Linked DNA regions of Homo sapiens: region 1 is linked to region 2. Evidence: promoter capture Hi-C in human tissues and cell types (Jung and others, 2019). All regions are on one chromosome and are shown on one strand. The core of a region is centred on a gene start or on the middle of the fragment in contact, and the rest is flanking DNA. Distances in the headings are between cores, read along the strand shown. Region 1 overlaps ARFIP1 (ARF interacting protein 1). Region 2 holds the start of FHDC1 (FH2 domain containing 1).

Region 1 (5,457 bases), core at 2,665-5,164, 51 kb before region 2:
TTCCTGCTATTTTCTGAATTATTGAATACTTTGTCACCTAAGAAACGTAATTACAGCTATTGCAATAGCATTAAATTTGTATCTTCTAATATTTTAGTTAATTTAATATTACATTATTTGTTTCAACTGAAATTGAAAAGTGTTTTGTAACAAACTGGAGAATTATCAAATTAAATGATACATCTTAGAATATGTGATCGGTTTTTTATTTGGTTAGGTGCATCCTGATTAATCTGTTAATTAGTAAAACTTGCACTGGAAAGCTTTCACTGCTGAATATACAGAGCTAGAGTTAGTTCTTGCCATATCTGAAGGAGTCATGTGTAATGTTTACTGCACCAAGATGCAGTTTATTCAAAAAGAATGAACTAAAGCTGGTGTTGAGTGATCCTTCCTCAGTTGTGTGCCTAAATAGAGCTGAGCTTGGGAGTCAGCTAGTCACCAAGTTTACAAAGAAATATGTATTGTTAATATTTATACTTTGAGGAGAATCAGTCAAAACACAAAAAAAATGCACTTTGTTTTATGTCTGAAAGTTTTAACCAATTATTACCTAATTTGGCTGTGAAAGTTATAGTTTCTCTGATTAATAATCTGCTCTATTTTTCTTTCCAACAGCTGTGCTTATAGTATAATAGAAACAAAATGTAGAAATGAAAATATTGTTTCTACTACAAAGTAACTTAAAAAAATTATTTAGCTTTTAGGTATGTATCTGAGCTGATGACAATTTTGGTTTATTAGACTTTTTCAGTAATTATATGGCTAGCTGTGATTTCGATTCTTAAAGACGGAAAGGAAAAGTAAAACTGCTACAGCTAGATCTCTATCTAAATCACATATTTTCCCATTAGTGACGTGCTTGAGATTTTTAAGTCACTTTTACTGATTTATTACTGAATAAATTAAGGTGACTTCTTTGTTTTAGGAAGAATTTGGCTATAATGCCGATACCCAGAAACTGCTGGCTAAAAATGGAGAGACTCTTCTTGGGGCCATTAATTTTTTCATTGCTAGTGTGAACACTTTGGTGAATAAAACCATTGAAGATACATTAATGACTGTGAAACAGTATGAAAGTGCCAGGTAAGGTATACATTTTCACTGTGTTGTCTGTTTTACAGATGGCATATAATTCAGTTAATTTTTTGGTTACAAACAACAGAAACCAACTCTGGCCAATATGGGCAGGAAAAAAATGTACTGGAAAGTTATAGGATGCCTCTACAGACCTGGCAGAAAGGGAGAGAACAAGATTCTGGAAACAACCAAGAACCAAAGCCAAGTTAAGCCTCAGAAGAATCTAATTAGAACCCCTATGCTGGGTGCCTCTAGTACTTGATGCTGCCACAGCTACCATAAATAATTTCCTAAATACCCATGAATACTTGCTTCATTGCCTTGAGATTATCTAATTGAGCCTTGGTCATGTGCCCAAACCCTGCCTTCTAGTGAGTAGGGAAATGGAGGATCTCCCAGCTCTGGCTTCTTTAGAAGAGGACAGGGCCCTATGTTCTACCAGGTAGGTATTACATGGTCCTCTATACTCTCGCCTAAATTTACCTTTCATCCTTATTACCACTGCTTCCACAATAGCCAGACCCATACTTTCAGTTTCTATTGAATAAATAAGCTCATTTTGCCTCCATGATTTTTGTTTGTTAGGATATCAGTCATCTTCCATTTATCCAGATTATAACAAGCCTTCAAACCCTTTCAAATTTTACCTTTTATATAAATTAAATATTTGACTTGTATTTTGATAACTGTTCATAATGCAGTGTTTTTATACATCCTATTTTAATGGGTTTTTGTATATCCATATTCATATATATATGTATATATACAGTTTCCCTGTCTCATAACTATCCTGTTAAATGGTGAACAAAATATATATTAATAAATATATTAATAAATATTTTGAAGGGTCTAAAATATGGCAGACCTATAATAGCCTTTTTCACCTTTTGATTCCAGGCCCAATTTTTTCCCCATATGCCCTACCCCTTTTATTTAAGTATCATTCTAGTCCCTTTTGAGGTTTTTTTCTTTTGAGCACTCAAAATTCTTATTTTCCATTATACTTTTTATGCATAGTTGAAGATAAACTTTACCTTTTAGAAGGATAACTTTACTCTTTGGCCTCTTATCCTAGTTTAATGGTATGAGAAATACCTGTAAAAAACTCCAAACTCATCTAGTATTTTTGCAATTGAGTGCTTATTAAATATATATTTCCTTACACTTCAATTAAGTAAAAGCCCAAATCATTTTGAAAAGTTAATTTTTGATGTTTTCACAGGAAGAGATGCTTCTGTCCCATACCATGTTTATTTTGTCATTTTCCATTTAGTATTAAAGTATGAGATTCTTATTGACTTGAAAATGAAGGTCAAACAGCTGTGGTTGTATGGAGGGGTAAGGGTGAGGATAGCTGTTAGTAAGATAGCCTTCCGTGGAAATCTCTTCAATAACATTCTCAGTAATTGGTGTTTCAGTCTCAGTGTAAATCCTTTCATGGAAATTATATTTTTCAAAGGGTTCATTATGTATATGAATTTTAAAATTCATTTATATAAGTTTTACTTGATCCTTTTCTAAATTTTTCTGTTCCTTGTTCATAATGTCCTAATTTGTTCATAATGGTACTGTTTCTTTTATCTCTAATCATTTTAAATATTCATATTTTCTAGTCCTTCTGATTGTTTTAACATGTATGGGTTTTAAAGATGGATATTGTTTTCTTCCAAAAATACCCCCACCACCTCCTAGTTGAGAACTTTGTGAATCTAGTTTCTCTACTTTGCAATTGTCTACCTATCCTGAAATATATTTTCGTTAATAATAATCTCTTTCCCTTCAGCTTTTATTTCTAAACAGTTTATAATTAATTTGTAGAGGAGAAAACACTCTAGAGGTTAAATGGTTTGCTCACTTGTAGTCAATTTCAAAGGCAAAATAAGAACCCATTGGTTCTCTATGGTTCACATTTTATCAGTAGGCCTTATACCTGAGTATTAGTGCCCTAAGTATAATGTGGTATAAGATCTCAGATTATAAAATACAGTATATAGGTTCATTTGGAACTTTTGAACAAAATTATAAATCAAGTTACATGTACTTGGTGGCTGGTTTCTTAAGGGAAACCCTTACACAGCCTCTGTGTGTACTTTAAAAAACAACAACAGTAATGTTGTTTTTGTTTTATGTCATCCCGTAATTTATCCTTTTTTATTCAAATTACAATGTATGATCTTATTCATTAAGCTTAGCTTGGGGTTTGACTTTTCTGTTGTTTATGAAATAGCTGTGGAATTGGCTAGTTGTTAACACTAAAACCTTGCCTACTGATGGATAATAGTCAAAAAGAATCCAAGGTTAAAAGTTTTTCAGTAGCTGAATTTCCTTCTCTGTCAAAGCCAGAATTTACTGACTTTTAGGGCAAGGGTCATCTATTTGATCAGTGCAAAAAGTGGTAATTTAGGCAAATGCCCGAGTGGCCTTTTAATCCTCCCTATTATGCATTGTGTACAAGTATTTCCTAGCCCTCTGGTGCTTCATGTATAGAAAATCTTGTAACAGCCCATTCAACACTTCTCCACAGCAGCACCAACAAGGGAGTCAATTGTGGTCGAGACTTTTCAGATGTGGACACCTGTTCTCTAGAAGTTTTACATAAGCCATAAAGTAACCGTCACTAACTTTGTTGATACGGACTCAGTTCAGACGGGCAACCTTGAAGTGAAGTTGCTTTTTGAAAACTTAGTGAGCTTCTCTTCTTGGTGGTAATGAGCACTGTTAGAGAAGCTATTATGGAAAGTTTTACTTTGGTACCACCTACAAACTCTGAATGTAAAATTAAGAAATATAAGGTCAGTATTATAACTTTGAATATGTTTGAGTTAATCACTGTTGTTTAGAAATGCGCTCCAAGGCTATTGAAGGATATTTGTCCTTAGATTAAATCACCATGTATTACTATTTATTTAGTTCTACTTTTTTCTCTTTTATTTCCTATTGTTTTTAGTGTGCTTGCTTCTAGATACCCCTCTTCTAATTTGGCCATAATAATAAGCATTCTAAAGGTATCAGTTATTACCAGGTATCCTGTGTGTTTTATCTATATGAAGTTTTTGTGGAGATTTTTGTTCACATTTATAGATTGAAAAACTGGAGCACAAAGAGATGAAATAACCAGCTCAAGAATAGAGCCAAAAGGCAGAGAGGTCATTCAGCTTGGCTCCTGAACCCATGGATTTAACTAACTAGTTATTATTGCCAAGTCAGTCTTGCCTCCTAAATCTTTTGTATTTGTCTCCTTAGCTCCAATGCCTTTGTCCTGATTCAGTGACTCATTTCTTATATGTCCATCGTTTTCTAATAGGTTTCCTTGCTCCTGATTTTTTAATCATTTATTCTATCCTCCATCTCTTACACTACCACCAGGGTCATCTTTCTATCCTGATACAATCATGTCATTTTTATGTCAGATCAACATTCTTCAGTGGCTTCCCATTACTTCTCCTACTGGATTAAATTTAAACACTTTAACATGGCCTGTAGGGCTGCTTACTTTCAATCCTGCCTGCCTGTCTAATGTTAATTCCTTCCATTGTCATGTTCCAGCTTCAGATTCTGACATACCGAATTCCCAAATGTGTCATTGTATCTTACAAATCTATGCCTTTGTCCATGCTATTCTCTTCAGAATCAGAGTATCCTACTGATTTCTGTATCCCAATTCACCTAGCCAGCTTTTACCATCCTTCAAATTTTAATTATAGTATTTTAATTCTGTCTGAGATACCTTTTCAGATATCTAATTAAATAATTATTCCTCTTGATTTCCATTATACCTTACCCTCATTTATGGTAGTTCTTATTATCTCATTTTGTTGTAATTGTTTACAAGGTTCTCTTCCTCTAGAATGCGAGCTTCTTGAGGATAAACATATCTGTTCATCTTTATAGCTCTACTTTCTAACACAGTGCCTGGAACGTGGAAAGTGCTCACTTGAGAATTGTTGAATGAATCAGTGTATCAGTGAATGAATGAATGGTTCTCTTTTGACCCTGAAAGAGGCCAATTAAATTAAATCTTAACTCATACTGCTAAATTCAGTATGAGTTAAGAATAAATTAGGATCAGTGTGAAGGACTGATGTATTCTTTCTCAAGTCATATATACAATATAGATTATGTTATTTAAAGTATTGTTAATTCCCAGAATAGGAGATGTGAATTATACACCTAATATCTCCAAATAAAGAGCTTTAGTTTTAGGGTATAAGCTTTGTGATTCTGATCTTGACTAAATTAGAGGTCACTTTGCTTCTTCTTTGCTGAGTACCGAATAGTTGAAGCTGCTGGATAAATCACTGTTTAATAAGCAAGATAGTACTATACTTAGACAGGCACTGTGATAGAGCTATTATGAGGAGTTATGGGATCTTGGAG
Region 2 (4,696 bases), core at 1,661-4,160:
CCACATCCTATGTACAATTTGAAAAATAAGAGTCAAAGTAGGCCAGGCGTGGTGGCTTACATATGTAATCCCAGCACTCTGGGAGGCTGAGGCGGGTGGATCACAAGGTCAGGAGATTGAGACCATTCTGGCCAACATGGTGAAACCCTATCTCTACTAAAAATACAAAAATTAGCCAGGTGTGGTGGTGCATGCTTGTAATCCCAGCTACTTGGGAGGCTGAGGCAGGAGAATCGCTTGAACCTGGGAGGCAGAGGTTGCAGTGAGCTGAGATCGCTCCACTGCATTCCAGCCTGGCGACAGTGAGACCCCGTCTCAAAAAAAAAAAAAAAAAAAAAAGTCAAAATAAGCATGACATATTCAGGGGCAGTACGTCCCACTGCTTGAGTGAAATGGGACGCATCCAATTGTGGGAGATAAACGTAGGATGCTGCCGGATTGTCAGACTGAAGAATGCTGCCTTCTTCCTGTAGGAGCACATGGGAATCTGCAGAAGGTTTTGAAGAGGTAGGTAGTGTGATGAAATCAGACTTTTAAAAACAGTGACCTGACAGCAGTTTTGGGATGGATTTAGGAAGAAGAGAGAAGCAGAAAGAACACCAAGGTAGTGGATGTAGGTATCCAATTTAACTTCTCTAAGCTAGGAAATCAGAATGCTTATAGGATCATGGTGAGAATTAAGTGTGGTGCCTGATATGTGGCCAACAGCAGATAAATACTTGTTCCCTCTTCCACTACTTGGGGTTACTGCAGTGATGGTGCATGTGAAAAATAAAACAGGTTACTTGGGAAAGAGCAGCAAATTTAGCAAATACTTGAATTTTAAAGAATTTAAGAGAGACAAGCAAAGGAAAAGCTAGGATTTCAAACAGAAAAACCAGGTCTTAGGTAAAGAGGGGGAGGTGGTGGGTGTGGGAAGAGTACTAGTTTTGAGGGAAAGATGAGTTGATTTTTGGATATTTTTATTTGGACTTGAAATTTTACAACGATAATATGGATTCAAGAGTCCCTGACATTGAAGAGAAACCCGGAGATATACCTTGAAGCTCAAATTTCCAAGCCCCTCATTTTCCCTGGGCCCTTCCAAGGATACATGTCTAGTATTATGTTTGTAAGTTTTTATTGCTTTCCTTTAAGAAGTTCCCCCAGGAGTTATACAAGCTTCAGGTCCCACGACATCTGGATGGGTTCAGTTTGAAATCAGAAGGTATTTCTTTGGGATACTGGGAGATCGAGAGTTGGAAAAACCTTGTTACTGTCCTCAAAGGAAGAGAAGGGTCAGCAGAGAAGTCCAGAGAAGCATAGAGAAGGCCTTAGGGTAGGATGCTGCCAAGGAGATCAAAGGGATGAGGGGCTGAGAATGGGTCACCAGACTTGACTTCTCAAAAAGTAACTGTTTTAGAGTGCATGCTCAATACAGTTGGGGGGAGGCCCACTGTCACGGGGTTGAGGAGGGAGGAGTAGGCAAGGGGTGTGGACTCCCCATTTAACAAGGTCGACAGTAAGAGAAAAGAAGATGCCACTCAACTCCTCACTTTCGATCTGCTGTAATTTAACTTGAGCCTGAACAGTCAATATTCCTTTGGGATTCATATTAGCTCCCTGAGCATGACATTGTCTTTCTCTTTATTACATTTTCTTATTCCTTAAGATTTTAAGATTTTCTTAATTGGATCCATTTCTCTTCATGCACCATCAATGGCCAAGAAATGGGCTATTGGCAGGCACAGTTTTGGTTTTGGGGTTGATTGGTTTGTTTACACTAATAGTTTCTCTTTCTCGATCCAAGGCTTGACCAAGGAGGTCAGGAATTCTGTCCTGGGAGTTCAGGGACTGAGGACCAGGATGGAGGAAGCAAAAGGCGTCAGGCATTAGGCTGGAAACGTCTTGGTCGGTTATCTAGGATCAAAGAGTCAAAGGTAGCGATGACTTCATCCCCGTAGAGGGCGCCTCCCTACCCCGACAGTGGATTTTCGGTCAGCCGGTTTGCCCGGGATGTTTTCTTTGACTACTTGCTTCTCACTGGCGCCCCAAGTCACTTTGAAGAAAAAAAAAATGTGATTAAATCGATTCCCCTGTTTCTTTCTGTGAGGAGTGTGCCTTTCCCAGACAGCGTGCGTTCATTCGATGAGGCCTGGCAAAATTTTTGAGGGGTCTTTTTACGCTTTAATACAACCTAAAGGTTTCTGTTACCATCATCATTGAGAATTAAAAACAAAAACAAAATAAAAAACGGTAACAAATTTACAGCTTGGCAGGCCCCAGGGAGGAGCTGACCTTTGCGAAGCTCTAGCGCAGCCAGGTTTCAGCTGTAGGGGTTGGGACAGGTCAGTTCGCCCAAGTGCTGCTAGCTCTCCAGGGAGAAGCAAGTGTTGGGGCAGAGGGTGGTCTGGCGCGTGCGTCGGGGGGCGTGTGCGGGTGTGTGTGTGTGTGTGCGCGCGTGTATATAAGAGTGTGTGCGCGCCCGTGTGCACAAGAGAGGGTGCCTGGGAGGCTGTCGCAAAGGCTCCTTTGTGAAAGGCACTTGCAGGTTCAGAAGCCAGCTTGGCGCCTCCTCTCGCCCGTTCCCCGAGGACACCTGGCTCTTCTGGGCAGCCCAGCTATCTCCGTCTCCTGCCGCCCCTACTTCTCTCGGTGGCCCCCGGCCTAGCCCCGCACCAGCCTTCGGGTGCGGGAAGCAGTGTGCCCCGAGGCGTCTCCCCCGGGGCCCCGCGCAGGTGAAGGTGAGCGCGTGGCGGTGACGGTGGCGCGCGTAGGGTGGAAGGGGAGGCGAGGGAGGGGCGGAGCAGGAAAGGGCGCGCTGCCCTTCCCGGCCGGCCAGGAGCAGCGAGGCCGCAGCTTTGTTACCTGAGGCTGCCGCTGCGCCCCGCCCCGCCCTGCCCCCTCGCGCTCAGGGTTGGCTGGGCCTGCAGTGACCGGGAGGAGGCGGCTACGCCGACACAACGGCGGGAGGCTGCAGCGGTCTGCGCGCCGGGAGCGGGGGCGCGCTGGCCGCGGGTGAGTGCGGGTCGGGCGGCCGAGGCGGGGGCGACCGCGGCGCGGGACACGGGGAGCTGGAGCCCCGCCGCTCGGGAGGGTCAGGGTTGGGGTGTTGTCCGGGACCCGAGGCTGAGGCGCCGAGAAGCGCGGCTGATGGGTGCCGGGTCTCGGCTTCCTCCGAGCCTCACCGGGAAAGCTGGAGAGGAGGTTCCAGTTCCCTCCACATCCACCCCGGTGACTTTGGCGGCCGCCCTTACCCGGCCACGGAGAACAGCGATCGGTCCCTGGAGGCGAGGACGCGCCGGTGTGGACCCGCGTCTGGAGAACGAGCTGCATCGCCAAGGCTGCTGCGGGTCGCACCTGGGCGGTTGACTATTAGTCGTGGCTAAGACTTTCAGATCAACCGCCCCCTAGTTTATCCCGACCCTTGGGAGACAGCGGCGTCCCGCACGGAATGCGCAGCCGCGGCGCCGCGCTCGGTTCCCTAGCCAGCCGGGGGCCACGCCTGGCCCCTGACACAGTGGTGGGGCGGTGGCGGGGACCTAGTGCGGTGGTGCGGACCGAGGACCAGGCGCTTCTCGCCCCGACAAACTTGCTCCGGCCGCGCGAAGTTCGGATTGCAAGTTGCGCCCCGCGCCTGCAGGAGTGTGGGGAGGGGGAGGAAGCGGGTGGGCTGGGGATCAGCCTCCAAACAAGGGGTGTCCCCAGCTCTTGGAGAGCGGGTTCTGACCGGTTTCAAACGCCAGGAGTCTCCCCTCTGTTTTTCTCAGCGGCTCGACCCGGCTCCCTTTTGGCAGAGCCGCAGTGCGGCCGTGAGGCTTTTCCCCCGCGCCTGCGACCTGGATGGGGGACGTGGGAAGATGTCGCGGCGGAGGCTCCGGGTGGGTTGGGAGCGCGCGGCCGCCGCAGACCCGGTGTCTGCGAGCCGGAAGACCCCCCCTTTCGTTTCATTCACACGGACACCTCCCCTAGTTAGCCGTCTCCCACCCAACTTCTGGGCGCAGCGTGCTAAACCCCCGCAGAGGGGCTGGCGCCCTGGGGGGCGTGGCGTGGGGAGCGTGGGCTTTCCAGCGTGGGCCCCTCGGGGAGGGGGGCGGGGCCGAGACCCCCTCCAACTGGAGGGGCCGGGAATGGGCGAGCGGGTGCGGCGGCCGACCCAGCAGCTGCAGCCGCCGGACGGGAGAGCGGTCGGCGCTGCGGAAGGCCGAGGGTCGTGCAACGCCCGCGCTGGGCGCCCGCCCCGCAGTCCCCGCCCCGCAGGCCGCGGCTTCTCTCCCCGCCGCAGAGCTGGCGCGGCGCGTGTGGGCGTCGATCTCAGCGCGCACCGGCGCCCCACCCTCGCGCCGCGACGCCCTTCTGCCCGGCGCTGATAAGGACGCAGCTGGGGCTCCGCGCGGCCCGTGGGCCGCCCACTCGCGTTCAGTTTGCTGACCCCAGCGCGGCTCCCCGGGGATTCGCGGCCCAGCCGGTGGCGGCTGAGCCGGTGGCTTGTTGGTGAGTGGCTCGGGCGGGGACCGGGGTGCCGGGTTGGGGATGTAAGGAGGCTGCGGACAGCTGTCTAACGCAGAGAGCTGGTGAACTACTACGTATCCAAACTTGAAAGAAGTGGTGTCCCAGGACCCCCCAGGCCGAATTTCTTCCGGACTTAATGGTCGGTTTTCAAACTTCCGTGTGGACAGAAACGACCTCCGGGATTCGGCCGTCTGTGACCCCCTTC

The links. The method cuts DNA at HindIII sites, captures the fragments that hold promoters and counts their contacts. A contact is called where the count stands out against the background at its distance.
Region 1: a fragment that was not itself captured here is called in contact with the fragment with the promoter of FHDC1 in region 2 in 1 of the 25 tissues and cell types used here (mesendoderm cells).

Annotation. Positions count from the first base shown.
Region 1 is chr4:152,881,795-152,887,251 of GRCh38, forward strand. It overlaps ARFIP1 (ARF interacting protein 1), which reads left to right. Exons shown (of 9, transcript NM_001025595.3): 7 at 929-1,086. Among named protein-coding and RNA genes, the nearest start is that of FHDC1, 52 kb to the right of the region's middle. The HindIII fragment of the contact is 4,299 bases long and covers 1,766-5,457 here.
Region 2 is chr4:152,933,413-152,938,108 of GRCh38, forward strand. FHDC1 (FH2 domain containing 1) reads left to right here and starts at 2,911. Exons shown (of 12, transcript NM_001371116.1): 1 at 2,911-2,997. It overlaps LOC729870 (a long non-coding RNA gene), which reads right to left and starts at 3,425. Exons shown (of 2, transcript NR_136614.1): 1 at 3,237-3,425; 2 at 1,104-2,038. RefSeq lists silencers at 2,867-2,956, 4,289-4,548. The HindIII fragment of the contact is 7,704 bases long and covers 1-4,696 here.